Regions from separate parts of the Homo sapiens genome. Here all the other regions are linked to region 1. The links are contacts of gene promoters, found by promoter capture Hi-C in blood cells and fetal thymus (Javierre and others, 2016). All regions are on one chromosome and are shown on one strand. The core of a region is centred on a gene start or on the middle of the fragment in contact, and the rest is flanking DNA. Distances in the headings are between cores, read along the strand shown. Region 1 holds the start of FZD5 (frizzled class receptor 5). Region 2 overlaps FASTKD2 (FAST kinase domains 2). Region 3 has its middle 24 kb from the start of MIR3130-1. Region 4 overlaps PIKFYVE (phosphoinositide kinase, FYVE-type zinc finger containing).

What was found. Contacts are between HindIII fragments. The CHiCAGO score rates a contact against its expected background, and 5 or more counts as called.
Region 2: a contact is called between a fragment that was not itself captured here and the fragment with the promoter of FZD5 in region 1, in 1 of 17 cell types (total B cells). The highest score is 5.2, in total B cells.
Region 3: a fragment that was not itself captured here is called in contact with the fragment with the promoter of FZD5 in region 1 in 1 of 17 cell types (non-activated CD4 T cells); the score reaches 5.4 in non-activated CD4 T cells.
Region 4: a contact is called between a fragment that was not itself captured here and the fragment with the promoter of FZD5 in region 1, in 1 of 17 cell types (M0 macrophages). The highest score is 5.0, in M0 macrophages.

What each region holds. Positions count from the first base shown.
Region 1 is chr2:207,768,656-207,776,400 of GRCh38, forward strand. FZD5 (frizzled class receptor 5) reads right to left here and starts at 1,251. Exons shown (of 2, transcript NM_003468.4): 1 at 610-1,251; 2 at 1-339. The coding sequence starts at 84. RefSeq lists silencers at 2-61, 472-531, 872-1,551, 3,608-4,083 and enhancers at 2,102-2,151, 2,316-3,136. The HindIII fragment of the contact is 9,976 bases long and covers 1-7,429 here.
Region 2 is chr2:206,784,166-206,791,910 of GRCh38, forward strand. FASTKD2 (FAST kinase domains 2) reads left to right here. Exons shown (of 12, transcript NM_001136193.2): 8 at 2,568-2,734; 9 at 3,772-3,990; 10 at 4,654-4,738; 11 at 6,407-6,521; 12 at 7,518-7,745. The coding sequence ends at 7,637. Among named protein-coding and RNA genes, the nearest start is that of MIR3130-1, 4.7 kb to the left of the region's middle. The HindIII fragment of the contact is 5,023 bases long and covers 1,847-6,869 here.
Region 3 is chr2:206,803,510-206,811,254 of GRCh38, forward strand. No RefSeq gene overlaps it. Among named protein-coding and RNA genes, the nearest start is that of MIR3130-1, 24 kb to the left of the region's middle. RefSeq lists an enhancer at 3,224-4,051. The HindIII fragment of the contact is 265 bases long and covers 2,510-2,774 here.
Region 4 is chr2:208,309,103-208,316,847 of GRCh38, forward strand. PIKFYVE (phosphoinositide kinase, FYVE-type zinc finger containing) reads left to right here. Exons shown (of 42, transcript NM_015040.4): 13 at 3,134-3,193; 14 at 5,192-5,321; 15 at 6,091-6,271. Among named protein-coding and RNA genes, the nearest start is that of PIKFYVE, 47 kb to the left of the region's middle. The HindIII fragment of the contact is 3,644 bases long and covers 2,988-6,631 here.

The sequences.
Region 1 (7,745 bases), core at 1-2,500:
GGACGCGGCGGCCGCCCGGCCCACCAGCTGCGCTAGGAGCAGCAGCAACAGCGAGGGCGGCGCGGATGGGTCAGGCCGAGCCATCGCCCCCTCCCTCCCCTCGCCTCCAGCAGCCCGCGAGGGACGCACACAGGCAGAGGAATCCGGGCCGGGGCTTCTCCCTCCGGCGTCTCGTGTGTGGCGCCGGGGCTGGCAACCTGTTGGTTGCTTTTTCCTTTAAAGAAAACCGTCCAAAGATAAACTGCTTCGGGAAGGCGCTGCCTCCGCTGGCAGCGCTCCGCTCCTCGCCGGATAGGGCTGGGGAGAGACGGTTAGGGCTCGGATTCCAGGGAAAGGACTCTTTAAAAAAGAAGGGGGAGAAGAAAGATTGCAACCACTCCCTGTTGGAGAGGCGTCAACAGTTCGGTCCCCGCGAGCTGTCTCCAAATCTCTTAAGTTAACCCCTTTCCTTTCCTCCCCGCTCCGCCTCCTGTAACCAAACTACCGACTCCCCCACCCTCTCTTTCCAAGCTGGGCCCTTCAGGCAGTGCCCGGAGACCAGAACCCTCAGCTTCCCGGAAAAGGGCACAGGAAACGGGAGAAGAACAGGGAGAAAGGGAAGGTTCTCACCTCCACGGATCCCGCCGAGAAGAGCAGACAGTCCCCAGCCAGCCTGGGTCCTCCGTCCCTGGGTCACTCCGCTGAGAAGCGCGACTCAGAGCCGGGCTGGCGCCCGGAAAGTTTAGCGACAGGCTGGGTACCCGTGGCAGCGGCACATGGCAGCAGGTGGGGGCGACTCAGAGTGGGGGGCGCCCCCAGAACAGGGGCGGCGCAGGCCGGTCACTCGCCCTCTCCTCCTCGGGAGCCCCCCGCATGATCCAGACGGAGCCGGGCAGGGGCAGGCCGTGCGTTCTCCCCGGGGCCGGGAGCCGGACGGAGGGCGAGCGCGCCTGGCAGCACCTGGGCGGGAGGAAGGCGGGAGGCGGGGGCCGTGGGACCCCGCCGCCTCACAGCACCGCGAGCAGCCGGCGCTGGCCAGGCCGGGACTGCATGGTGAGCGCCGGCCGCCGCGTCCCGCCCGCCGCTCGCCTCCTCCCCTGCAGGGGGCTCCGCGCTCCAGTGGACTCCTGGGGGCGGTGGCGACGCTCTCGGGACGTGCCCTGCTCGGCTCCTCCCCCGCGCTCTCGCACCCTTTCGCCCACCTCTGGCGAGCACGGAACCGCGCGCGGCGGCGACCACAGCGGACTCACGGCCGCAGGCTGGCTGCCCTCTCCCGCCCCGCCCGGGTCACCTGCTTCTAATGCCCGCCGGGAAGCCCCGCCCCGGCTCCGCCCCCTCAGGCCCGGGCGCGGTTGGTGGGCCGCCTCGCCAAGCTCTCCGCGCGTCCCCGCCCACTGCCCCGCGGGCTCGGCCTTTCCCCCGGCGCCCTCTGGCCCCGCCAGGAGCGGGCAGCCAAGGAGCGCTGACCAATCGCGGGCCTGGAGGAGATGGGGGCGGGGCGAATGCTAATCATGCCGCTCTGGGCACCCGGGCGGGAAGCCCTTGCCAGAAGTCCCTCCGGAGTTCTCTGCCCGCGCCCTGGGTGCAGGACTCGCTCCTGTAACTTCCTGGCTTATGCACCTTTGCTCCCAGGGCCCCTGCCCTTTCTGCCTGCAGCTAAGCGTCCTTACAGAGTTCAGTGCTTCTTTGAAAGAACTGCTCAAGGAATCACTCTTAGGCGTGGCTGTCTCCCTTCCGAGCTGTCTTGGAACTGTGTGAAAGAAGAGAGGATACTTACTGAGCCCTTTACTGTGTGCCCAACAAAGTGTTAATCGGTTACATCCTTTTTTTTTTTTTTTTTTTTTGAGACGAGTTGTTCTGTCTCCCAGGCTGGAGTGCAGTGGCGCGATCTCGGCTCACTGCAACCTCTGTCTCCCGGGTTCAAGCGATTATCCTGCCTCAGCCTCCTGCGTAGCTGGGATTACTGGCGCCCGCCACCACGCCCAGCTAATTTTTGTATTTTTGGTAGAGACGGGCTTTCACCATGTAAGGCTGTTCTCGAACTCCTGACACCGTGATCTGCCCGCCTCGGCCTCCCAAAATGCTGGGATTACAGGTGTGAGCCACCGCGCCCGGCCCGTTTACATCTTAAGACAAGATCTCACTCCTTACAACAATTCTGAGGCAGGTACTTCCTACAGGTGAAGAAACCGAGACTGAGACTTGGCCAAGGCAACCGAGCTAATCATAGTTCCCCCAAGAAAGGGCGACCTCGGCAAGCAAGTTCACCTCCGTATTCCGATCACCTGGCACATAGTAGCCGCCCAAATGGCAACCCTGGGATTCGAACCCAGGTAGTTGGTCAGCGGCACTCACCATCGTAGCCGCCCCTCCCCCCATACTATCGCAGCCTCCCTGGCTTCGACCTTTACTTTTGCATCTCTTAACAAAATCTTGTTGTGACAAGAAAATGGATTTCTTTCTGCCTTTAGAAGACCCAGAAAGATGTGAGTCCTTTATTGGTCGAGGTTTATAATCCCAGGCAGTTCCGAAGTCGCCCGCAGAGAGAAGCGATACCGACCCAGGGTTCTGTGCTGGGCAGGGCGCCGGCCTCCCCGTGCCCTTCCGTCCCCGGCTGCCTGCTGCTAAGCCGCGCACTTGCGCGCCGCGGGGGGTCGGAGGGCGCACCGATGGCGGGGACACGGCGGCGCTCTTCAGTTGCGCAATTATGCTACAAGTTTTAAATGTCCTAAAAATGCCTCTTTTCTATGTGTTGTAATTAGATTGGAAGACTGAGGTATTTAGCATACTTGAAATACATTCACACGCCTAGGAAGAGGGTTTAAATTTTTTCCTTCTCCCCAAACTTTTCCTTCCACTGGGCAAAGGGCGAAAATAGGCAAGAGGGCCTGGGGACACTTGAAGGGATAGGGACTGGACTAACTGGACTAGATCCAGATCAACCGCGGGTTACTGTCCATCTCCTGTGCTGGATCCCATTGGCACAGGTTGGAAGAATAAATTGCGGAAGTGCCACTCCCCTCCTGCGTATCAACAACGCTTTGTGGGCAATAATGAAGAACACGTGTGTTAATCCCAGCCTCCAAGTTAAAAAGGAACAAATATCAATCACTTCGCGGATATCAAAACTATTAATAAACGTTTAAAAGGCCGGGCGCCATAGCTCACGCCTGTAATCCTAACACTTTGGGAGGCTGAGGTGGGAGGATGGCTTGAACCCAGGAGTTTGCAGACCAGCCTGAGCAACATAGCAAGACCCCCAACTCTAAAATACATAATTAAATAAATGAATAAATATACCTTACATCTTTCTTTCTCTGGAATTCTACAGGTGTTCATATTTTATCTCTTGTGTTTTGGAATTACTTGCCACTCTGGGTCAGGAAGCATCCCAGGGTTGAAAATAGTGGGAGTTGAAAAGCTGTGGGCATAGCAGTGAGCAAGAAAGGGAAGCCCTCAGTGGAAAGTATGTGCAGACTATGAACATGCCAAGGGAGGCCCATCTCATTCTGTGCTCTTTATGCAACGTGTGTATTACTGGGGATGGACAAGTGTTGGCTAATAATAAAAATTATTTGAAGTTGGAGAATGTTAATCACTCACACTGGAATTTAGCCAGAATATTTGTGTTATTTCACACGGTTCTGTCAGAGGCATTTGAACCAGAGCGACTCCATCTTGGATAGGGACTGGGTAAAATAAGGCTGAGACCTACTGGGCTGCATTCCCAGGAGGTGAAGACATTCTAAGTCAACAGGGTGAGATAGGAGGTCAGCACAAGATACAGGCCATAAAGACCTTGCTGATAAAACAGGGCGCAGTAAAGAAGCCGGCAAAAACCCAGCAAAACCAAGATGGCCAGGAGAGTGACCTCTGGTCGTCCTCACTGCTTATTGTAACTTAATTATAATACATTAGCATGCTAAAAGACACTCCCACCAATGCCAAAGCAGTTTACATTTTACAGATGCCATGGCAACCGTCAGGAAGTTACCCTGTATGGTCTAAGAGGGGGAGGAACCCTCAGTTCCGGGAATTGCCCGCCCCTTTCCCGGAAACTCATGAATAATCCACCCTTTGTTTAGCATATGATCAAGAAATAACCATAAAAATGGGCAACCGGCGGCCCATGCCGCTGCTCTGTCTATGGAGTAGCCATTCTTTATTCCTTTCCTTCTTTTTTTTTTTTTTTTTTTTTTTTTTTGACAGTCTTGCTCTGACGCCCAGGCTGGAGTGCAGTGGGGGTGCAAGCTCGTCTCACTGCAACCTCTGCCTCCTAGGTTCAAGCAATTCTTGTGCCTCAGCCTCCCAGGAAGCTGGGATTACAGGCCTACGCCACAACACCCTGCTATTTTTTGCATTTTTAGTAGAGTCGGGGTTTCGCCATGTTCACCAGGCTGGTCTGGAACTCCTGGCCTCAAGTGATCCGCCCGCCTCGGTCGGACTCTCAAGGTGCTGGATTACAAGCATGAACCACCTCGCTCGGCCCTTTCTTACCAAACTTGCTTTCACTTTACTCTATGGATTCGCCCGGAATTCTTTCTTGCATGAGATCCAAAAACCCTCTCTTGGGGTCTGAATCAGGACCCTTTTCCAGTAAAGGTTCTGAAGAAAACAATGTTATCTACTGGTTTGTAAACCTTTTCTTCATCAACAGCAAAATCTTAATTTTACTTGGAGATCTCTAATAATAATAGTGATAGCAGAGAACTTTATGGAAAGAAACTTATTTCAGCTGGGCAAGGTGGCTCATGCCAGTAATTTCAACGCTTTGGGAAGCTGAGGCAGGAAGATCACTAGGGCCCAGGAGTTCAAGACGAGCCTTGGCAATATAGTGAGACCTCATCTCTAAAAAAAAAAAAAAAAAAAAAAAAAAGGAGAGAGCAAGACATTTTATATCGTATATGTTTTTGTATTGTATTGTGTTGCTTTTTGTCTATATTTTGAAGGCACTTTAAAATATGCTGGCTGTTTAACATGTATTAGGCAGGGTGCTAGACGTCGTTTAATCCTCAGATGAAGAAACTGGTGCTATAATGACTTTGATGACTTGCTTGAAGTTATTTATTTAGTCTATGGAGTCAAAAACTTTCACACACCGTGATGATGACAGTTCAGTAACAACATACTGTAAATGAAAATTGCTAAGAGAGTAGATTTTAAGTGTTCTCACCACACAAAAATAATGAAAAATATGTAGAGGTAATGCATATGTTAATTAGCTCAATTTACCCATTCTAGAATGTATACATATGTCAGAACATCATGTGGTACATCATAAATATATACAATTGTTATTTGTCAATTAAAAAATAAAATATCTCACAATTTTCACCTGAGTCATACTTTATTACCCAACAAACTAGAAAACACTGAATTTTTTTTTTTTTTTTTTGGTTGGGGGGACAGGGTCGTGCTCTGTCACCCAGGCTAGAATGCAGTGGCACGATCTTGGCTCACTGCAACCTCTGCCTCCTTGGCTCAAGTGATCCACCTCAGCCTTCTGAGTAGCTGGGACTACAGGCATGCATCACCATGCTCAGCTAATTTTTTAAAAACTTTTTGTAGAGACCAGGTCTCACTATGTTGCTGAAGCTGGTCTTGAACTCCTGGACTCAGGCAATCCTCCCACCTCAGCTTCCAGAAGTGCTAGGATTACATGTGTGAGCCACTGTGCCTGGCCAAATTTTTTTAAAGATGCAATGTTTAAGCATTTAGAACATTGTTAAGCATCCTTGTCTATTTATTCACTCATGTATCTGTCCATCTATCGATTAATCCATCCATTCGCCAAATGTCAAATTTCTGAGTTGAAGACACTACTGCCATACAAAACATAATTTGATGAAGCCAAACTCATGAAATTCAACTGGAATTATTGTCCAAATTGTGTTTATTAATTGATGAAAATACAAAGGATAATGCTAAATATTCCATCTAATAGGCGTGTGACATTCCATAAGTTTTGAAGTATTGGTTTTGGATTTTTGCCATCAGGGAACAGTTACATCATTTTAAAACTTTCTAGATTTGGCTGGGCACAATGGCTCATGCTTGTAATCCTAGCCCTTTGGGAGGCTGAGGCGGGCAGATTGCCTGAGCTCAGGAGTTCGAGACCAGCCTGGGCAACGTGGTGAAACTCTGTCTCTACTAAAATACAAAAAAGTAGCCAGGCATGGTGGCGGGCGCCTGTAGTACCAGCTACTCAGGAGGCTGAAGCAGGAGAATTTCTTGAACCCAGGAGGCAGAGGTTGCAGTGAGCCAAGATTGCGCCACTGCACTCCAGCCTGGGCGACAGAGCAAGATTCTGTCTTCAAAAAAAAAAAAAAACTTTCTACATTTATGTTGTTTATACATGCATTATTTTGTTGAGATTCTTGAGAGTTCAATGCTGTAGGAATGAATGAACAGGTATCCTTTGTATGTATACTATTCAATATCTTGATAATCAAGCCTGGAATATTATGTTACATCTAGACACCTTCAATAAATATTTGTGAAATAAATAAATGAGTGAATGACAACTGATACTAACTTTTTCAATTTTAGCAACTGGCATTCAGTCCTTGAATTCAGATGAACTCTCCCTCTGAGGTTGACCAGGTCCTGTTAAATGAAGCCTAAGTCCAAATTTTGGCTCTGCCTTTACAAGCTAGGCAACCTCGGGCAAGTCACCTAACAGCTCCAGGCCCCCTTACTTCTCTGTAAAATAGAGTTAGAAATAGTTATCTACCTCCCAGAGCTATAGTGAGGAGTAAGTATATTTATATGGTAAAGAGCTTAGAACCATGTCTAGCCCCTGAGTCTCTATAGGTCTTGGCTATTATTATTAGTTTCTTCTAAGGTTCATTCTGTTTTTCCAGTTTTCTGTATTTTCTTTTGTATATTACTTTAACAAGGGAAAAAATAACTATTTTTTTCCAGGTGTACTTTATTTCTGAGAACACTGCAGGCTCTCACCAGCTATCTCTGGCACTTAGATATTGGTAAATTTAGTGCCAAAGCAGGGATCGTGTCACTTGCCCAGGATCAAAGTGCACACTCCTGATTATCAGTAACCATGTATGTGCACACTTGCTGGCTCAGGATAGAGGCCACCAGCCAACCCAAGTTCCTCACAGGTATTTCCAGACTAGCTCCCAACATGTCCTACAGCATCTCTGATCACTGCTCTTCCCATCGTATCAGATACCTCGAGACACAAACCAGAGGATTAAAACAATGAGCCATTTTTCCTGGGTTCATAATGAGAGTATCTTTTGTAAGTGGAATAATTCAACAGTAATCTTCAGTCCTCTCTTCTCCTACAATGTGGTGGAGATTATAGAAGAGTAAAAGCAGCTTTCTTTTTCTCCTCGGGGTAATGGAAGTACTGGGCTAATCTTTGCCACGCTGATCAGTGGCCCTCAGCTGCGCATTGCAATCACCGGGGAGCTTTTAGAAATACTGAAGCTTGGGCCCTGTTTAATCGGAGTCTCTGGTTGAGGGACAGGAAATGTGTTTTGGTTTATTTGTTTGTTTTGGTGGTGGTTTTGTTTTTAAGTCTTAACCCTGTTTTTGGCTAGGGTGGAGAACCACTGGCATAGATGGTTTTGGTGTTTCCTCAGTACAGCCCCAGACTTGGGCCTAGCTGAGTCTTTTGCAAGGAGGGTTATTCACATCAGTGTGTAAAATGGAACACTGGGAATAGGTATAAAGAACTGCATTCTAGGCTAATCGCATCCGAGTCTGTTTAGGCTGAAGGAAAAATTATATAAAGCAACAGA
Region 2 (7,745 bases), core at 3,108-5,607, 980 kb before region 1:
AGGCTATAAAAAAAGAAGTTTGTATTCCCTGCTCTTCCTAGACCATTTATGAGAACAACTCTGTTGTATATCCAGAGGAAGGCAGTACATGGTAGGCACCAAGTAAGTGCTTTATGGAGGAAGGAGAAAGGAAGATGGCAACTTATCTGGAGTAGCAAAGGTTTTGGAAGCAGAATAACTCAAAGTATTTGGGAAGAGAGTTGACTAGAAGAGATGGTTAGATAGGAGAGTGGTAGGAATTCTGGCTTATTGTATACCCACATGCTATACATTAATCATTATTTCATTTATGATGGCCCATCGGGGAGAGGGTGTTAAATCCAGAGTATCTTGCTGGGCTTTGAACCCAAGGAACAAATATGTAACGTTTAAGCTCTGTTGTTTTGGTCCTTTGGTTTCTTCTCTTCTTGATCTGTATTTACCACCTTATGGATAATCCCACATTTGCATCTGTGGTCATTAGTGTGCTCCTTAACTCCAGACCTGAGTCTCTGTGGGTTGCATATGGTCACTGCACATCCCAGAAGTGTCTCAAGTTCAGTAATTCTGGAAGTCAGCTATTTTTCTTGACTCATCGTTTTCCAATGACAAGCTCGTCCTCCTGTCTTCCTCATCAAAGTTTATTTGTTCGTTTAGTCAGCATTTGCCAAGCACCTGGACACTTAGGAGAAAGATGAATAAGACAGTCCTTCTTGCCAGAGGATTCTGTGTAATGGGTAAGGTAGATATGTAAATTGGCAGTTAAATATAGCATGAAAATTCGAGTGATCTAGCATATTAGTCTGTTTTCACGCAGCTGATAAAGACATACCCGAGACTGGGCACTTTACAAAAGAAAGAGGTTTAATGGACTCACAGTTCCACATGGCTGGGGAGGCCCCACAATCATGGCAGAAGATGAAAGGCACATCTCACAGGGCAGCAGACAAGAGAGACAGCCAAGCAAAAGGGGTTTCCCCTTATAAAACTATCAGATCTCGTGAGACTTATTGACTACCACAAGAAGAGTATGGGGGAAACCACCCCCATGATTCAGCTATCTACCACTGGGTCCCTCACAACACAAGGGAATTATAGGAGCTACAATTCAAAATGAGATTTGGGTGGGGACACAGCCAAACCATATCATCTAGGATATTTGGAAATAGAGGAAGGATATATCAGGATGCCAGCCTGGTGAAGAGGAGGGTCAGGGGATATCAGGCAGTGTTGCCTGGAGGGGTTGGTATCTGAGCTGATCTTAAAAGATGGAGAGATGGGGTTTTACCATGGAAAGATAAGCAGGAAAGAACATTCCAAGTGAAAGGCCCTCTATATGCAAGACCTGGAGGAAAGAAACAGCAGAGCACATGCAGGGAACAGCACACAGTTTGGGCTGCTGAAGCATGAGGTACAGGGTGAGGAGTGGGGCAAGAGAAGACCAGAGGGGGGATCATTACCCAGGCTCCCAACTTCCTTGTCCACACCATCCCCTGCCCCCGCATCCCACTGCATGTTCCAAAAGCAGTCAGTACTAATTTCAGACGTGCTGCCTTGCTATTGCGTATATGATCTGTTATATTCCTCCCATTTCATCATAATTCCTATCGTTTTCCTGGCCTTATCACAGCCCTTCATCCTCCCCAACACTTCTTCCCCTACCCATGGACCTCTCAGTTGATTTCAGTCTCATTGTTAACAAGGGCTTGTGTCCAGGCATATTTGCCCCAGCTGTTAAGAAACACTCCTCTGTACCTTCATCTCACCAGTTATTCACTATCAGGCAAGTAGCATGTGCTTTCAGGGCTGTGCTCAAATCTTCTTCCCTTATTCCATCTTTTCCACTTATTCAAATTCTCCTCCCAAAAGCTTCTGTTTATTTTCTTTCCTCTGCGAGATCACAGTACTTTGCATGTATTTCTTTTTTTATATAACTATATGTATCATATGCCCTGAGAATCAGATTGACGTGTGTTCAAAGGGTATCTACCATTTATTAGTGGTGTCACTCTGGGCAAGCGACTGCCCCTGATTTTGATCTTTTCTGTCTTCATTTGTGCTTAACCACGTTATACTGTGTACCATTAGCTGTGGGTGGTAGGATTAGGCTTGCAGTTCTTTTAACCCATAGTATTGATAACTAGATAATTTTAGTTGGTTATAAAACTGTAGTGGTGGTCCAGGCGTTATAGAAAATCTAGCATAATTATGAAAAGGTTCTGGAGCCTGACACCTTATGTTCTAATACTGCCTTTGCTACTTCCTTGTCTGTGTGTTCTTAGACAAGTTACTCAATCTCTAAGCCTGTTTACCCATTTTTTTAAATGAGGAGAATAATAGTAATACCCATGGAGTTTTTTAGTGTGAGTTAAATGAGTTAAAGTCTATAAAATGTTTGTCTCGTGCAAGACATACAGCAATAGCCAACATTTATTGAATGTATACACTTATTATGAGATAACCAACTGTCCAGAATGATGTGTGGATACTTACTTGCAAGGCTGATTTTCTTATCTCTTTTCTTTGGAATCGTTACAGATATTGGCCTTCTGTATATGTTGGGAAACTGACTTTTCTTTGTTCCCCAGACAGTTCGTGGAAGTTATGGCTAGTGCTCTGACTGGTTATCTTCACACTATTTCTTCTGAAAACTTATTGGATGCAGTATATTCATTTTGCTTGATGAATTACTTTCCCCTGGCTCCTTTTAATCAGCTTCTGCAAAAAGACATCATCAGTGAGCTGCTGACATCAGGTAGGATGTTAGTGCAGAATTGGTCACCAATTGTGACCAATTCTGCACTACCACTAGCTACCATATGACTCTGAATGGGGTCTTAGTTGGAGCAGTGTTAGTTGAAATTTGCAGAGCAGGTGTTGCTGTGGAAAGGGCTGATAATGGTGAAGTCAAAGGATAGTGCTTCAAAGCAGCAAACCTACAGACCCTTCTTTAATGACAAGTCCTACATGTAGAAAAAAATAAGGAATGCATCATTATTCCTTTTATTTATACTCTATCCTTCTATACAAAGGCTAACTGTTCAGGCTGTTCTTTATGCTTTGATCAGAGCTGTTTTAATTCCTAATCCTTACTTATCACATTTGAAGCCAACCTAAGTCAATTTTTGCAGCTGTAAACACTTGGTCACTCCTGGCCTGTGATGAGGGAACACCTGTTAGATCAAGAAACCAAATAGCCACCAAATTAATTAGTTCATTTACTCTTGGAACCAAATTAACTGTTGACTTTTAGTCTTTAGTATTAAATAAGGCAAAGCAATATTCAGGTAGATGTACAAAATTTGACGATGTGTCTGAGAATAGAGTAGTTCAGAATTAAAACATAAATAAATAAATGTTATAAAATCCCAAAGTTGAGTTGTAGAGAGTCAGTCAATAATACCACGTGCTGGTTTTTCAGGCAGTGTAATAATGGAGAAACAGCCTTGAACCTTGGAAACCTGGATTCTAGTTCCAACTTTGCCTTAATTACGAGGCTTTTTAACTTTCCTGGGCATTTCCTTATCCATAAATTGAGGAGTTTAGACTAAATGACCTCTAAAGATATTTGAAGCCTTAAAACATTATCAAGTGCAGGGCTTTGATTTAGACCCTGTGGAAACCAGGGAGACAAAGAGAGAGTCCTTGTGATAAGAAAGAGATAATTAGAAATACAAGTGCATTTATGTATATATTTATTATTTTATAACTATTACTAAATATATACTAATATAGTTTTTTAATGTTGCATTTATTTCTTCTTAATGATATACTCTCTTTTTCATCTTTTAGATGACATGAAGAATGCTTACAAGCTGCATACTTTGGATACTTGTCTAAAACTTGATGATACTGTCTATCTGAGGGACATAGCCTTGTCACTCCCACAGCTGCCGCGGGAGCTGCCATCGTCACATACAAATGCAAAGGTGGCAGAGGTGCTGAGCAGCCTTCTGGGAGGTGAAGGACACTTCTCAAAGGATGTGCACTTGCCACACAATTATCATATTGGTATGGGACATTATATGATTTCCTTTCATTTTATTGTATTTATTTTCCTTTTTTTCTGACCAAAAAAATAGGTATTTGTGGCAGCAGTTTAGTGTAGTGCAGCATTGCCTCTGGAACTGGCCTGATTCTTGCCTCATAAAATTCTTGTGACCAATAAATGAAATTCTACACATTTTTATGTGTCTAAAATCCCAAGACTAGTATCTGACACATGGTTAGCTCTCAATATATTTTAGCTACTGCTATTATCATTATTGGTAGTACTATTAAACATTTTGAAACAGAAAATCACTTGGGGCTGGTCACGGTGGCACACGCCTGTAATCCTAGCATGTGGAGAGGCCGAGGCAGGTGGATCACTGGAGCTCAGGAGTTCAAGACCAGCCTGACCAAATGGTAAAATCCTGTCTCTACCAAAAAAATACAAAACTTAGATGGGCGTGATGGCATGCCCCTGTAGTCCCAGCTACTCAACAGGGTGGGGTAAAAGGATTGCTTGAACCTGGGAAGTTGCTGCAGTGAGCTGAGATCACACTACTGCACTCCAGCCTGGATGACAGAGCGAGACCACATCTCAAAAAAAAAAAAAAAAAGGAAAAGAAAAGAAAAAGAAAGTCACTTGGAGGAATGTTTGAAAAATTAATATCAATTCTTTCCTTTCAGATTTTGAAATCAGAATGGACACTAACAGGAATCAAGTGCTACCACTTTCTGATGTGGATACAACTTCTGCTACAGATATTCAAAGGTTGCTTACATATATTTCATTTGCTGGGCTTTCTGAATTAAAATCCTAATTCTAAAAGACTTCATATTAAATAGCAGTAGTAAATCTAAGACTTGATGTTTGTATGGAGCCTGCAGCACACCAAGAGACTTGTCATCCATCAATGTACTCCTTAGAAAGTGTAAATGTGGACGTTATGGTTGAATACAATGGACTACAGTATTGGTCATTTAATGAGACAGACATTTTTTTAAAATTAGGTTTTGAAGCTATAGTTCAATAAAACAATATTAATATAATTGAAACTATCAATGCAGTGTAGACTTTGGACAAGATAATATAATAGTGATCATAAAGAATAAAGACTCGAGGCTTCTACAAAAATCAAATACCCAATAAATATTTTGCTCTACCACCAAGACTTTTCCAGAGGTAGAGAAACCGTAGTTTTTTAATTAAACTGTATTTGTATGGGTTAGAGCACATTGAAGCTAATCCTAAGTTGTTTCTTTGGCTCACACATTACAAATAGAGTGTCTCTGGGGAGAAATATGATGCTATACCATGAGAGAACATCCTGCCTCTTCAGTAGATGCATAAGATCATGCCATCATTGCACACACCCGTGGGTCAGTTACCCTTTATGTAAAAGCTCTGCTACATGGATCCTGACCCCAAGGAACTTGTATCTTCTGTTAACTCCACTGGACACACACACACACATAAATATGATAGAAACATACAAAAAAATCTGTAGGGATCCAAGCTCTTATCTGCCCATCCCTCTTCATTCACACACAGTTCTGTGACTTTCACCTCTTTCTGAATGCATCTAGCTTATTTCTTGGCCATCTTTTCAACCGCTGTCTTTCCTATTAGTGCTACCCATCTCCCCTCAGAAGAGGCTTTCTCTCTGACCTCATTCCAAGATCAGTTTTCTTTTTCGGGTACTCCGCTATTCTGGCATAATAAAATAACAGTTGTTCTCAGCATAAAGTCATGAGAAGTGAAGAATGTGAGCATTCCTTTAAAAACATAAAATTTGTCTTATAACAGCCAGAGTATAGGTGAAGGCAGTAAGGATATAAATGTCTTTTTTTTTTCTTTTTTTCTCCCAGTAAACTTAGTATTTCCAAAGTGCCAGGAACAATGAAAAAACAAATTACACCTTCCACATTTTCGTTATATTTACAGATTTTATTTTAACAGTCTTGCCTTTCTCTTGGTGTTTTCTTTCTTGTATTTAAACTCCTATTTCTGTTTTTTAAATGCTGCTTTCTCTGGGAGATGATATGTGTAAGAAGAGCATTTACTATTTGGTATTATTTACACCGTTACTACTACTGGTAGAATAAATAATTATACTCAGATCAGAAATCAGCACTACACAGAAAACCCTTAAAATTGGTGCTTTCATGTCTGAAAATTTTCCTCTTCAAAAATGTAGCCATCCTTAAAGGGAACTGAGAGGTAACTGTGTATAATGTTGTATATTTTTGATTTATAAAGTAGCCTTGTATAGTGGAATATCTGCAGAGGCCAAGTAAAAGAAGTGAAGGACTAAGACAGGAATATCAAGGATTGTGGTCGGTGGAGAGCTCAACTTGGAAATCTCCAGAGAACAAGAATGCAGCAAGACTAAATAGTAATATCAATAACTGTTCTTGTTTTGTTTATTTTTGTTTTCAGAGTAGCTGTGCTATGTGTTTCCAGATCTGCTTATTGTTTGGGTTCAAGCCACCCCAGAGGATTCCTTGCTATGAAAATGCGGCATTTGAATGCAATGGGTTTTCATGTGATCTTGGTGAGAAAAAAATGCAAATGAAATATTCTTTAATTACTGATGTACATTCTAACAGCTGCCAGGAATCTTGTGGTTGAGACTGGTTACTAGGACTAGAGGAATTGTCAGCATTATTGGAATGAGTGCTTTAGTTACTGTTTTCTTTGAAAAAGAACATTGCTAGTACACGATTTGGGTTCTGCTCAGCTGATTACTGTCATTACTAGAGCTTTTACAAATGTTGTTCTGGTCAGCTTTAATCCTTTTTTGCTAAGAAGAAGAATGCAAATAATATATTTTCATATTTAAGATACACAAAACCATATTTAATTTCCAGGTTATCTTGAACAAGGGAAGGAAAGATGTTAAAGCTTTGTTTTCATGGCCTGTGTGAAGCTGTTACAGGATGTTTGTTGCCAGAAAAGGCTGGATGGTTTTAAGAAGATGGGTCTTTCTCTTCCCTCTTATGCTTCAATTTTATTTTGTACCCCACAGCTTCTCTTGAACAGCCTCTTCTGATGTTTCTAGGTAGTAGGAACCTTACAAATACATTTATATATATGTTGCTGTTGGAATCTATCTAAATGCCACTCATTTGGTCCTGCGCATAATGTAAGATGTAAACATTCCAAGTCTTCTATTATTATACTTTAGTATTGGAAATGGATTACGTGTGGACTATTGAGATTAAGATGACTCCTTTCTCTTAGTGGGCTACTATTTAAGACTTTGTTTTTTATATTGCTGATTATATATATTCTAAGGAAGATTTTCTCAAGAAAGCAGTTTTTGCACCATTTAGAGGACCTTTAAAATTTGTATAATTTTCACAGTTAAAGCTTTCTTAAACCCTAGCATGTAGTCTTATTATGCCTTTAAAATATGAGTAGTTATAAGGTCACATTTGCTTTCAAAAAGCTATTGTCCTCATGTTACTTTACTATGTTTGGATCTCTAAACTAGCTCTTTTGTTAGTATCGTCTCACAAACTGATTATTTTCCTCTTTCTTTGGTAAGGTCAATAACTGGGAGATGGACAAACTAGAGATGGAAGATGCAGTCACATTTTTGAAGACTAAAATCTATTCAGTAGAAGCTCTTCCTGTTGCTGCTGTAAATGTGCAAAGCACACAATAAAGTGAAAATCAACCTTTTCATATTAGGAGACATGCATTTGTAAAAATTAATAAAGATGACAAGTCAGTTGTCAATGGAATTGAGCTATCTGCTAAGACAAAAAATGTT
Region 3 (7,745 bases), core at 1,392-3,891, 960 kb before region 1:
CCTTAAAATGAGGCTCTGCTAATAGCCATGTGCAACCAAAAATACTCTGGCATATGCCGGAGATGGCCTCTCTGAGGTGGGAAGGGAGAGCTGGCAGAGCCAGTGTGATGGGCAAGGGAGGGAAGAAGATGGAGCTGTTTCCAGCCTGCTGGAGCTACTGACCCAGCCTGTTCAATAAACTAGTGTCCCCTAGTAAGAGCCTTCCAAGTTAATCGAATGAACCCCTGGATTTCTTCTTGCTCTGTCACCCCCAGCAGTGAGGCTCACTCTAGAGTTTAGATCCTGCGTGTTCTTTTTCTTTTAACATCTGGTAGAAAAAGCACCCCCTGGCCTCTTCCACTTGGTTTCACATTTTCACTTTAGAGTTATCACCAAGTAGAAAAGCCACTTTTCCCTAAACTGCAGGCAAGAGCTGCAAACTCCCTCTAGGTGACTTTGTTGGGCCTTCAGAAGGTTAGAATCTGAAGGGAGTAAACATTACAATTAGGAAAAATTATCTCTTACAATAAAACATCCTCTCATACTGTCTGTAATAGCATATAATGTTACATGGGCCCGAACAATATGTATTCATCTGCAATTATTTATGCTCACCAGGGAAAAATTATTTGTTTATTGTTTTAATCATGATTAACCAGCAGTGTAATGATAGGGTGATAATGATAACAACGTGAAGAATGAAATGTTTGAGGTGCAAATGGAAGGCAAGATGCTAACCCTAGATGCTGAAAGTTTCTGGTAGAGCACAGAGGCAGGAAGTCTATTCTTTAGTGGTGTGTGTGTGTGTGTGTGTGTGTGTGTGTGTGTGTGTGTGTGTGTGTGTGTGGTGTGTGTTGGGGGAAACGCATGGTATAGGGGGTACATTTATCCTGAACAAGGACGAGATAGGAGTGGCCCAGTGCTCTTCTGACTTCCAAAGCCTGCTTTGCATTCAAGTTCAGGAGCTTAGGGCTCTCAAAGACTTCTTTTTCCTTCCATTCCTCCCACAGAATGAGAACAAATCCTGGTTAGAGCTACAGGGATCTTCCCAGCTTGTGAAAATTCCCATGTAATTGTTTCTGAGAGGCTGTCTTTCTTTCTCAGAAGTTCCAGAGAATTCCAGCTTCCCAAGGGCTGACCTTGAGTCATCCACACACCCGTTTTCCACCTTCTCAGCTCTGGAACAGGGTTTGGTTCCGTGGCTTATGACTTTCCCAAGGTTTCTGAGCTCGGTCCAGCAAGTAAAATATGTATCCCCTTCACTTAAGGAAGCAAAATTTTGTGGGCAAATTCTCAATCATGGCAAATCTTCATCTTTTGTATCTGGCTTTGGTTTAAACAAATGGTTAAAAGTACCTCCCAGCTAGCTTTGGTGAATGAAGTTGATAAAACTAAGTTACATTCCTTTTGATTAAATATAGGCATGAAGAGTTAATTTTTCTCTTCAGATAAGAACTAACTCAGAAGGCAGTTCCAGAAGAAAAGTGCATCCAAATATTTTGAACAATGACAGCATCATGGGAATAAGTGTACGGCATGTCTCCCGGGAAGAGTATTTGAAGCCCAAACCAACAGATACCACATAAAATACAACAATAGCCACTATCTTTTAAGCATTTTCCTCAAAGGTTGATTAAATGAAACACTTCAACTTTGGGGTAAGTATTATTAATGCCCACTTTATAGATGAAAAAATTCAGACTTAGACTTATCAGCCATGTGGCTTTGAGCAAGTAATTTAAATTTTTAGATTTGATTCCAGAGCCATATATCATATATGATATAACTTTGTACCAACCAAACAGAAAGCAAGTCATTTTCAAACAAATGCTTTATTGATTTTCTCTTATTTATATACTAGGATATGAAGTTAACAATACATTTTACATGGGTACCTTTCTGTCAAGTTGGAATGAATTTCCGCATGAATAAGAAAGGCCCATTTTCTCTTCATTTTTGTATTTTGAATAGTAGAGAGGCAAGGGAGAGAGAAGGAGGGCCACTGGGCTGAGAATCAGGAGACCTGGGTTCCAGCCACTGCCTCTGTCATTTAAATTCTCTAGGATGCCTGTTATTCCAGCACTTTGAGAGGTGGGCAGATTGCTTGAGCCCAAGGGTTCGAGACCAGCCTGGACAACATCGTGAAACCCTGTCTCTACAAAAAAAATACAAAAATTAGCTGGACTTGGTGGCATACATCTGTAATCCCAGCTACTCAGGTGGCTGAGGTGGGAGGATTGCTCGAGGCTGGGAGGTTGAAGCTGTAGCGAGCCATGATCGCACCACTGCACTCCAGCCTGGGCAAGAGAGGGAGACCCTGTCTCAAAAAAAAAAAAAAGAGAGAAAAGAAAAGAAAAAGGAAAAGAAATTCTCTAGGTCTTGGTTTCCTCAGTGATATAACAGTCAAGTTGGGATAGACCTTCTCTAAGATGTGGTGCTCTCCCTTCTTCGCAAATGCTTAGCATAAGCCCAGATTTCCAATTCCAACATCTGGTCAAAGGCCTTCCCCCTTGCCCCAAACCATGACTTAAGCTTGTAGAAGTGTATGCTGTCATCCTAGGACTAAGAATGTGCAGTGCCTCATAAATCAAATTCAACATTAAATTGCACTGCAAACAAAAAGTTTCACATGGTTACAATGTTGCTGTATGGAATTTAATGAGCTCCATATGCCTGACCTCTGGATATAAATGATTTGGGGAACTGTAGCTGTGAAAGAGTCTAAGGGCATCAGCATCTGGTGGTGTGAGTTACACAGAGTGAAGAGAATCGACCTCATTTTTGTACTATTGCCAAGCTTGGAAAGGTAGAAATACTCTGCAATCGGTATGCTCACCTTCTGAGAGAATGCTGACAGTTTTCCAGAATTTTTCTCACTCATCAGGAAGTTGTGGAGTCCAGTGGATTCTGACTTCCTTCCTGCAGTGCTCCCAGACACTCGTGCCTGTGAGGCCACTGGGCTTTCACTCTGTCCTGGGGAGAGCAGGCTCTCTTGTTGGACATATCGGTGACTTTTGATTGACTACTTGTACTTGTTTTGGTCGTCTCTGCTACCCATAAAAAGGTTCTGCCTAAAACCCAGATCTGACAATGTTATCAATGTTATTCTTCTCCCTTATTTAAACAATTCAGGACTCCTCTTTTTTGTTTGTTTTTAGACAGAGTTTCTTTTGCTCTTGTTGCCCAGGCTGGAGTGCAATGGTGTGATCTCAGCTCACCGCAACCTCCGCCTCCCGGATTCAAGAGATTCTCCTGCCTCAGCCTCCTGAGTAGCTGGGATTACAGGCGTGCACCACCATGCCCGACTAATTTTGTATTTTTAGTAGAGACGGGGTTTCTCCATGTTGGTTTTCACACGCGTCCGTGTGAAGAGACCACCAAACAGGCTTTGTGTGAGCAACATGGCTGTTTATTTCACCTGGGTGCAGGCGGGCTGAGTCAGAAAAGAGTCAGAGAAGGGAGATAAGGGTGGGGCCGTTTTATAGGATTTGGGTAGGTAAAGGAAAATTACAGTCAAAGGGGGTTTGTTCTCTGACAGGCAGGAGTGGGGGGTCGCAAGGTGCTCAGTGGGGGTGATTTTTGAGTCAGGATGAGCCAGGAAAAGGACTTTCACAAGGTAATGTCATCAGTTAAGGCAAGGACCGGCCATTTACACTTCTTTTGTGGTGGAATGTCATCAGTTAAGGCGGGGCAGGGCATATTCACTTCTTTTGTGATTCTTCAGTTACTTCAGGCCATCTGGGCGTATACCTGCAAGTCACAGGGGATGCGATGGCTTGGCTTGGGCTCAGAGGCCTGACATTCCTGCCTTCTTATATTAATAAAAAAAATAAAACAAAATAGTGTTGAAGTTTTGGGGCGGTGAAAATTTTGGGGGGGTGGTATGGAGAGAGAATGGGCGATGTTTCTCAGGGCTGCTTCAAGCGGGATTAGGGGCGGCGTGGGAACCTAGAGTGGGAGAGATTAAGCTGAAGGGAGGTCTTGTGGTAAGGGGTGATATTGTGGGGTTGTTAGAAGAAACATTTGTCGTATAGAATGATTGGTGATGGCCTGGATACGGTTTTGTATGAATTGAAAAACTAAATGGAATAACAGAAGGAGAAAAACAGGTATAAAAGGTCTAAGAATTGGGACGACTCAGGATATCTGATTGGAGAGTGCTTAAGGAGATTCAGCATAGTCCTGCCAGCAAAGATTATTTATTTACTTCAAGAGTTAAGAGTGGCAGTTTGGGGACAGCACCAGGAGATATCAGCTGTGATGGCTTGGAGAAACAGTGTAAACTGGCAGTGTAAACAAGAGCAGGTCATGTATGAGTAGTTGAGAACGGTGAATAGGAGTATGACTAGACAGAAAATAGGAGTATGACAAGTTTTTTTTTGGGGAGGTAGGCACAGTCTAAGTTGGTCTGGTGTCTGGAATGAGACTGGGGCCTAATAAAAAGGAGCGTCTATACAGGAGCTTAAATGGGCTGTACCCTGTAGCATTCCGAGGACAGGCCTGAATTCTGAGAAGGGAAAGTGGTAAAAGTATTGTCCAGTCCTTTTTGGTGGCTGAGCTTGGTGAGGTGTGTTTTTAAAAGACCTTCAGTCCATTCTACTTTTCTTGAAGACGGAGGACCGTAAGGGATATAAAGGTTTCACTGAATACTAAGAGCCTGAAAAACTGCTTGGCTGATTTGACTAATAAAGGCTCATCTGTTATCAGACTGTATTGAGGTGGGAAGGCTAAACTGAGGAATTATGTCTGACAGAAGGGAAGAAATGACTGCAGTGGCCTTCTCAGACCCTGTAGGAAAGGCCTTTACTTATTCAGTGAAAGTGTCTATTTAGACTAAGAGGTATTTTAGTTTCCTGACTCAGGGCATGTTGAGTAAAGCTAATTTGCCAGTCCTGGGTGGGGCAAATCCTCGAGCTTGATGTGTAGGGAAGGGAGGGGGCCAGAATAATCCCTGAGGAGTAGTAGAATAGCAGATGGAACACTGAGAAGTTATTTCCTTGAGGATAGATTTCCACGATGGAAAGGAAATGAGAGGTTCTAAGAGGCGGGCTAGTGGCTTGTACTATAGTATAACCTGCCTTTGCTGGTGTGTGGCGATTAGGTCTGGTGGAACCGCCATCAATAAATCAAGCATGATTAGGGTGAGGAACAGGAAAGAAGAAAATCTGGGGAAATGGGGTGAATGTCAGGTGGATCAGAGAGATACAGTCATGGGGTCAGGTGTGGTATCAGGAATAATGTGGGAGGCCGGATTGAAGTCTGGGGCAGGAACAACGGTAATTGTGGGAGACTCAACGAAGAGTGAGTATAGCTGAAGGAGCCGGGAAGCAGAAAGTATATGCGTCAGGTATGAGGAAGAAAATAGATTTTGGAAGTTATGAGAACTGTAGAGAGTGAGTTGAGCATAGTTTGTGATTTTAAGGGCCTCTAAAAGTATTAAAGCAGTGGCAGCCGCTGCTTGCAGACATGAGGGCTAGGCTAAAACAGTAAGGTCAAGTTGTTTGGACAGAAAGGCTACAGGGTGTGGTCCTGGCTCTTGTGTAAGAATTCTGACCGCGCTAACCATGCCTAGGAAGGAAAGGAGTTGTTGTTTTGTAGAAGGTGCTGGGGTTTGAGAGATTAGTCGGACACGATTGGCAGGGAGAGCACGTGTGTTTTTATGAGAATTATGCCGAGATAGGTAACAGATGAGGAAGAAATTTGGGCTTGATTGAAGTAATGGGGCTGTCTGTGAGCTTTGCGGCAGTACAGCCTAGGTAATTTGCTGAGCTTGATGGGTGTCAGGGTCAGTCCAAGTGAAAGCGAAGAGAGGCTGGGATGCAAAGGAATAGTAAAGAAAGCATGTTTGAGATCCAGAACAGAATAATGGGTTGTAGAGGGAGGTATTGAGGATAGGAGAGTATATGGGTTTGGCACCACGGGGTGGATAGGCAAAACAATTTGGTTGCTAAGGCGCAGATCCTGAACTAACTTGTAAGGCTTGTCTGGTTTTAGGACAGGTAAAATGGGGGAATTGTAAGGAGAGTTTATAGGCTTTAAAAGGCCATGCTGTAGCAGGCGAGTGATAACAGGCTTTAATCTTTTTAAAGCATGCTGCGGGATGGGATATTGTCATTGAGTGGGGTAAGGGTGATTAGGTTTTAATGAGATGGTAAGGGGTGCATGATCGGTCACCAAGGAGGGAGTAGAGGTATCTTATACTTGTGGGTTAAGGTGGGGGGATACAAGAGGAGGACGCAAAGGAGGCTTTGGACTGGGAAGAAGGGTGGCAATGAGATTTAGCTGTAGTCCAGGAATAGTCAGGGAAGCAGATAATTTAGTTAAAGTGTCTCAGCCTAATAAGGGAACTGGGCAGGTGGGGATAACTAAAAAGGAGCGCTTAAAAGAGTATTGTCTAAGTTGGCACCAGAGTTGGGGAGTTTTAAGAGGTTTAGAAGCCTGGCCATCAATACCCACAACAGTTATGGAGGCAAGGGAAACAGGCCCTTGAAAAGAAGGTAATGTGGAGTGGGTAGCCTCCGTATTGATTAAGAAGGGGACTGGCTTACCTTCCACTGTGAGAGTTACCGGAAGCTCAGCATCCGTGATGGTCTAGGGGGCTTCCAAGGCGATCGGGCAGTGTCAGTCTTCAGCCGCTAAGCCGAGAAGTTCTGGGAAGGAGTCAGTCAGAGAGCCTTGGGCCAGAGTTCCAGGGACTCTGGGAGTGGCTGCCAGGTGAGTTGAACAGTCCGATTTTCAGTGGGGTCCCACACAGTTGGGACGCGGCTTAGGAGGAATCCCGGGCTGCGGGCATTCCTTGGCCCAGTGGCCAGATTTCCAGCACATTTAGCAAGCTCCTGGGGGAGGAGGTTCTGGAGGAACGCCTGGCTGCTGCGGTTCAGGCGTTTGGAAGTCTTGTGTGCTGGAGATGTGTCTGGGGTTTGTCTCACAGTGGAGGCAAGGAATTGCAACTTTTTTCTGTTATTGTACACCTTGAAGGTGAGGTTAATTAAGTCTTGTTGTGGGGTTTGAGGGCCAGATTCCAATTTTTGGAGTTTTATTTAATGTTGGAAGCAGATTGGGTAATAGAATGTATATTGAGAATAAGACGGCCTTTTGACCTTTTAGGGTCTAGGGCTGTAAAGTGTCTCAGGGTTGCTGCCAAACGAGCCATGAACTGGGCTGGGTTTTTATATTTGATGAAAAAGGGCCTAAACGCTTCTGATTTGGGATAAAGAAAAAGGAGCATTAACCTTGACTATGCCTTTAGCTCCAGCCACCTTTTTAAGAGTAAATTGCTGGGCAGGTGGGGGAGGGCTAGTCACAGAACGAAACTGTAAGCCGGACCAGGTGTGAGGAGGGGAGGCGATAAAAAGATTACAGGGTGGAGGAGCGGAGGCTGAGGAAGAATGGGGACCTAGCTTGGGCTAGCGAGGAGGGGAGAGGTCAGATGGGTCTGTAGAAAAGGAAGATTAGAAAGACTCAGCGACGCTTGGGGTTGGGACTGAGGGGACAGGCGGGAGGGAAAGAAGGAAGATTTGGGACAAGTTGCACTGGGCACAGAGACTAGGAAGGGACTGATGTGTAAAAGAATGCCTGGACGTCAGGCACCTCAGACCGTTTGCCTATTTTACGACAAGAATTATTTAGATTGTGCAGGATGGAAAAATTCAAAGTGCCATTTTCTGGCTATTTGGAACTACTGTTGAGTTTGTATTGGGGTCAAGCGGCATTGCAGAAGAAAATAAGGCATTTAGGTTTTAGGTCAGGTGTGAGTTGAAGAGGTT
Region 4 (7,745 bases), core at 3,560-6,059, 540 kb after region 1:
GGTTATGTTATAGGGACTTGACTCTATATTTAGAGTTGTTCACTTTTTTTTTTGGTCAGCACTTTTAATGTTTTTTTAGGTCCACAAATAATTAAAATCTGGAAAGAATGGCTAGCGTGTTGGATAGCAGAATTGACATTTAAAGATCTTTATTTTCTCAAGCAATAGATTGAGACTAACAAGATGAAAGTTAACACAGTTAAACATAAAAGAATAAGGCTTAACATGTTTACTATTAGTACTTTGGAGAAAGTCACTCTTAATAATTTGTGTGATAAAGATCTAAGTTTTAGTTATTTGCAAACTTAATAGTGTGATGTGCCAACCCCGCACTCCCTGGCACTCCCTAGGGCAATAATAGATTTCATTAGTGGCCATATAATGTCTAGAATGAGGATCCAATTTACTGTTTTGTGTTCAGTTCTCATTTATGAATAGAACGAGGTTGCCAGGATCCTAAGACATCTGAAAACCATGCTAAGGAAAGCTGGACTATTTAAAATGGAAAAAAGACGTGGTGTTTCCTTTAGGTATCTGAAGAGTACCTGAAAGAAATTATATTTATTTTGCATATGGCTGAAGGAAGAACTAGATTCAGTAGTTGGGAGTAGTGAACTTTTGCCACTGTGCATGGTAAGTGTCCAGGTTGTGTCTGAATGTCCACCTGTCATGGTTATTGAGGACAGATGCCTGCATTGGGTGATGCGTTATATAGACTTGGGGACTTCTAAGTTTTCTTTTAATTCTAAATCTGTGAACTGAAAAATCTAGATCTAGAATTAAAAAGAAATTATAATCCTTTAGCCTACTCAGTGAGAATATTACAGAGGAGGTTCCAGCATTAGGAAGAAGATAATTATTAAATTGACCTCTTAGGTCATTTGCAGTCTTATAATTTGAAGACTTTAAAAGTCTCTTAATAAATATTACTGGCTTTCACAGTTCTCTCTTAGTTTTTAACATACTAACGAGTTATTCTTTTTACATTTTTTCTTGTGAAGTTGAAGCGTAATAGTTTGCTGAGTGTTATAGTCAAGATGAACACTGATTATCAGAAAATAAAGATTTCCAGGGAGACTGGTAGTTACGTGAAAAAATAATAGAATTCTTTTGCCTCTGGTTTTCATTCCCTTTGTATAAATACAAATGGGAATGGTTTTTATCTTTACATTGAAATTAAAGGTAGTACTTATTAAATATTTTCTTATGGATTGTCCTATATTGTTTCAGGCTGAGGAAAATTGGATTTATAAAATTGGTTGAAATATCTGTACTTTAAAAAATACTACTTATGCTTTCTGTCTGAAGTGAGAAAACCCTATTTTCAGAAGCTCGTAAAACTGGCTTAATTTTTCATTATTGGTCTTGGAGAATTGTACAGTTAAAATATATTTTATTATGTATTACAAGCAGGATTCTGAACTATTCTTGGAAAGTTAGCAAGTAAAACCTAGAGAAGAAGGTGAAAATCACGGCTTCCGTAAATCTCTAGATGTAGTTTTCCGTGTATAGGAAAACATGGGATAGAGGAGCAAGTTAAACACACCATGAGAAAACAATGGATTGTACTCCGAATGTGGGACATTGCACAGAACATTTGACCTGGGTTCTTTTAAATTCATGTTATGAAAAGAAAAAAAGACAGGAGATCTGTTCTAGATTAAAAGAGAATGAAGAGATACAGGAACCAAATGCCATGTGTGAACTTGATTGCATCGAGGCTTAAGAAGAAAAACTGTGGATTAAAAACATTTTGGAGACAGTTGGATAAACTTGAGTATGGGCTAATTCTGTGCTATTAAGACATTGTTAATTTTCTCAAATATGTAAATAATTTTGTGGCTATAGAGAAGAATACCTTTATTTTTATGAGAGTTGTGCTGATGTCCTAGTGGTAAAGTGTCATGATGTGTGTAACTTTGAATGATCGGGGGGAAGAAACATACACATATATGGCAAATCCTTAACAATTGTTGAACTCAGGTGGATGGTATACAGCATTTTCTGTAGGTTTGAATTTTTTTCATAACTAAATGGGGAAAATCCACCATTTCTGGAGTCTCATATAGATACAATTAAGCTTTAGTGTGAGAAGGCTGGTAAAGAACAATACATTAATTGAACTAATAGGATTTGGTGTTACTCATTCCTGTGAGGGAAGAGTAGAAATAAAGTGTAACATCTATCTTGCCCACATACTCGATTTTATTGTATTTGGCATAGTGCACTTGAACTTTCTAAATAAAATATTTTCTTTGTTTCCTGGTTGGAAGGATGAGCATATTGGCTTATAAACATAGTAACTTTTAAAGCCCAGTTGTTTATAAATGTACTTGGAGAAAATTTTGTGGAGATCCTTTACCGTAAAGGAGTTTACATGCATCATGTTTTAATTTGCATAGTGGAAAGAACCTCATTTGAGCTATGCTTGGTCACAGACCTAGAGAAAGTTCACGGGGAAGTAAAGAGTAAGTTTCACTTGTAAGAAAAGTATTTAATATATTAAAAGCATTCAGAGTGTGTTCAGTTAATGTCTAGCAAAAATTTGGCAGTGTTTGATATAATTTTTGAAAAACAAAAACACTTATTTGGAACTAATACAAATACTGATGAGTTTTATCTTTATTCCTGCCAATGTCACTTCTGTATTAATTTGTTTTATAGCTTATATTCTGAAATTTGAAAAAAGTTTATATTGTTTTATCAGGTGGGTTCTGTATGAACTGCTTTGTGCATAGGCAAAGTGATTATTTGTTAAATCATCAAGTTACATGTGAAAAGAACTGTAATCTTTTAGGATGGTCGTACAAGTATCTGAAGATTTAATTTTCATAAACCGGTTGGTTTTGGTAAGAGAAAAACATTTCTCTATCTGACATTTGAATTAAGGAGAATTGTTTTCACGGCTCTATTGTGTTATTAATGCAAGTCTGCTTAAGTTTAGTATGAAGTGCATAGAACAAGTATAAAGAGGCATTTTTACCCAAAGCTTTCTTGAATTTGCCGGGCAGTGATGGGTTTAGTATGAGTAATATTTTGTGTGTGGGCGTATTCTCTATATAATTATGCTGACATGTTATAGTCATATGTCTCTACTTTTGTTCCTCCTCTCTGTTGTCTCCCTGGTATGCAGAGTATTTGATTTCTGACACTGGAGGACAACAGCTCTCAATAAGTGACGCTTTCATCAAAGGTAATTTTATAAAAAGCTGTATGTGGAATGGTGTCTCTTTTTTTCATGAGGATATACTTAGGGCTTAGCACATTGATTAGCACAGAGAAGGTGCTGAAAATATATTTGATTATGGTGGTATCATGGGAACACAGTTTTTAATATATATAATGATTTAGAGAATGTTGAGAACCAAGAATGTAAACTTGGACTTGGTTTGCGAGAAGGAGGTCTCTGATGTGAAAAGTAATTGTTTAAAAACTTTTAAGTAGAATTTGAACTTAATTCTTTTAAAGACATAGTTTACACTTAACTGTATTGTGAATATAATATTAAGTATTGATATAAATATCATCAAGGATTGTCAAATTTGTCAAAAAGCCCACAGGCAGATCTCCAGTTAAGGATGCTGCTTGCCCTGTGGAGTGAGGAAGAGAAGCAGGCAGTAGAGGTTAAAGAACTAACTCTGATGATAAATTTCTTTTGGACACAAAAGGAGATTAGCCTTCTCCTATTCCTTCCCTACTTAGCTTAGCTTAGCTTCCTAGAGTAAAGACATTCTTAGTCCATAGTACTCCACTGGTTAGGCCTCAGATAATGGGAGAAAATTTCTCTTCCTTCTTGGCTCCCACGGTTTCAGATCAAAGAGAGAAGGCAAGCGGGTACAAGGAGCCACTGCAGCTTATCTGATAGCTTGGCAGTGCTTCTAAATTCATCTCCAAGCATCTGGTTCGGCTAGAAGTTTACAGAGTGGCCCTTTATGTAATTGAAATGTGCAATTCTTGTACTTCACATGTCATGGACATATACTTTACTGTGTAATCTGCTGGGCTGTTTGGTGGAAGTTTTTTTGTTTGTTTGTTTTGCTTTTAAGAGGGGACAGGTTAGAGAATTTTTGTAAGCATTTCCCACTTCTTTTCTTTCCACTTATTTGGTCAGATTATTCAACAGTTATTTAGTGAACATATTTTTTTGTTAAGCATTTATTATTTATTTTTTGTCTTATCTATTTTCATTCATCCTTTAAAAAATTTAAAGATTTTACACAAATTCTACATAAATGCTATTTATTATGTTTTAATATTTATGTTTTTGAGTCTGTCTTGCTAAAATTTTGTTAAAAAACCCCTGTGCCAATATTGAAAGAGAAACACTATTGAGGATTGTCTGAATAGACTTTCTACACTGTCATCTGTTGTTTTGTGATATCTGAGCTGAGCTTCTTTCTTGAAAATTCATCACTCTCGCTATCATGTGTTCTTTTGCCAGCATTCAGATTTCTGTTGAATGCAGTTTTCAGTTTGTGATTTTTTTTTTTTTTTTTTTGAGATGGAGTCTCGCTCTGTCACTCAGGTTGGAGTGCAGTGGTGCGATCTTGGCTCACTGCAATCTCTGCCTCCTAGGTTCAAGTGATTCTCCTGCCTCAGCCTCCCTTGTAGCTGGGATTACAGGCGTGTGCCAACACGCCCAGCTAATTTTTGTGTTTTTAGCAGAGATGGAGTTTCGCCATGTTGGCCAGGCTGGTCTCGAACTCCTGACCTCAGGTGATCTGCCCACCTCGGCCTCCCAAAGTGTTGGAATTACAGGCGTGAGCTACCACGCGCGGCCCAGTTTGTGATTTTAAAGGGGAAATTAACACCCTCGTTTTTAAAAATTAAAAGGAGAAGCAAAAGTTTCATTTTATTTGCTTTTCAGAAGCTGTGCTTATAATTATTGGCTTGAGAGTCTTAGTTACGTACATTTGATTTTCACAGTTCTGTTTCTGATTTTGGCTGTTGCCAATTACTGCTCTTCTTAATTCTTGCATTTCTGTATTTTTAGTGTATTTTATGTATTTGTAAGTATTTTCTTATGCATTTTATTTATATGTTTATTACATGTTCTTGCCTTTTTACACCAATAATTTATGTTGGCTAACTTAAAACATTTATAAAGACAAAGGGCAATTTCTAAATATATGAGTAGATGGTATAAAACAGGACAATGAAGTAATAACTTCTTATTTTATATTGTACTTAGAATCCTTATTTAATCGCCGAGTAGAGGAAAAATCCAAAGAGCTGCCTTTCACACCTTTGGGCTGGCATCATAACAACCTGGAGCTCCTGAGGGAGGAGAATGGGGAGAAACAAGCCATGGAGAGGTTGCTGTAAGGCAATGAAATTTTTAATTTTAATTTTTCACTTTTATTATCTTCAGTGACTTGATAAGCATATGCATCATTCCTCTTAAAAAGGGAGGTCTTTTTCTTTTTCCTTAGAAAGTAAAAAAATACTAAGGTTACTTAGGAAATACAGTCTATTTTGACTTGTGATTAAATTTCTTATAAAACCAAGAGCCCCGGCTGGGTGCAGTGGCTCACGCCTGTAATCCCAGCACTTTGGGAGGCTGAGGCGGGAGGATCACAAGCTCAGAAGGTTGAGACCAGCCTGGCCAACATGGTAAAACCCCGTCTCTACTAATAATACAAAAATTAGCCAGGCGTGGTGGCGCTGGCCTGTAATCCCAACTACTCAGAGGCTGAGACAGGAGGATTGCTTGAACTCAAGAGGCGGAGGTTGCAGTGAGCTGAGATCGCGCCACTGCACTCCAACCTAGGCAACAGAGCAAGACTTCGTCTCAGAGAAAAAAAACAAAAACAAAAGCCCCAAACTGTGCTTGTCTGTCCCCATTTTACGTGTTAAAATTTCATTTCAGTCAATTGCAGGGGACTTCTTAGTGGAAGATATTCAGATTTCATTTATATGCAAAATCCTTAAGGTACAGATATAATGAAAGAATGATATTGACCTAGAAAATCTTATCTGTGAGCCGTAATTGAAATGTTTATTTCTTTGTAGGCTGTTTGTTTTATCATCAGAATTATTGTCTCTGGCAGTATTAACTATGCAAACTTCTTTCTTATAATATTTTTGTAGTTCAGCTAATCATAACCACATGATGGCACTACTCCAGCAGTTGCTCCATAGTGACTCACTGTCATCATCTTGGAGGGACATCATCGTGTCATTGGTCTGCCAGGTTGTTCAGACAGTCCGACCTGATGTCAAGAACCAGGATGATGACATGGATATCCGTCAGTTTGTCCACATCAAAAAAGTGAGCTCTGCTAATGTTTTACTAATGCTAGGAACTGATGAGGCAGGACTGATTGTAATTTTTGTCTTAATGGTAATCTGAAAAGAGTCATTACCCTGAGGGGTGCTAGGTGAGGAGTAGGAGGTTTTGCTGTCTGCTTTGTTAGCAGCGCACTTAGGAGTCATGGAAGCCACGCATAGGAAGTGAAAGGTCAATGGAAAGGATGAGTTATATCGGAGATGAGTTGGGAACCCAAACAGAGATAGGTTCTTCCTTTCTTGCTTCCTCTTCTTGACAAGTCAGCTATGAGAAAGCCTGTTCTCACAGATTGTGATCACTGTTTGGAGGAAAAGCAGTGGGTAATTTGCTTTATTTAGATCAAGCTTGTCCCACTCGTGGCCTGTGGGCTGCATGCAGCCCAAGACTGCTTTGAATCTGGCCCAACACCAATTCATAAACTTCTTAAAACATTATGACATTTTTTGCGATTTTTTTTTTTAACTTTTTTATGTCTCTTTCTTTTTTTTTAATTATTATTATACTTTAAGTTTTAGGGTACATGTGCACAATGTGCGGGTTAGTTACATATGTATACATGTGCCATGCTGGTGTGCTGCACCCATTAACTCGTCATTTAGCATTAGGTATATCACCTAATGCTATCCCTCACCCCTCCCCCCACCCCACAACAGTCCCCAGAGTGTGATGTTCCCCTTCCTGTGTCCATGTGTTCTCATTGTTCAATTCCCATCTATGAGTGAGAACATGTGGTGTTTGGTTTTTTGTCCTTGCGATAGTTTACTGAGAATGATGATTTCCAATTTCATCCACGTCCCTACAAAGGACATGAACTCACCCTTTTTTATGGTTGCATAGCATTCCATGGTGTGTATGTGTCACATTTTCTTAATCCAGTCTATCATTATTGGACATTTGGGTTGGTTCCAAGTCTTTGCTATTGTGAATAGTGCCGCAATAAACATAATGTGTGCATGTGTCTTTATAGCAGCATGATTTATAGTCCTTTGGGTATATACCCAGTAATGGGATGGCTGGGTCAAATGGTATTTCTAGTTCTAGATCCCTGAGGAATCACCACACTGACTTCCACAATGGTTGAACTAGTTTACAGTCCCACCAACAGTGTAAAAGTGTTCCTATTTCTCCACATCCTCTCCAGCACCTGTTGTTTCCTGACTTTTTAATGATTGCCATTCTAACTGGTGTGAGATGGTATCTCATTGTGGTTTTGATTTGCATTTCTCTGATGAAAAAACCACTTTAAAGTTCGTATGGAACCAAAAAAGAGCCCGCATCGCCAAGTCAATCCTAAGCCAAAAGAACAAAGCTGGAGGCATCACGCTACCTGACTTCAAACTATACTACAAGGCTACAGTAACCAAAACAGCGTGGTACTGGTACCAAAATAGAGATATAGATCAATGGAACAGAACAGAACCCTCAGAAATAACACTGCATATCTACAACTATCCGA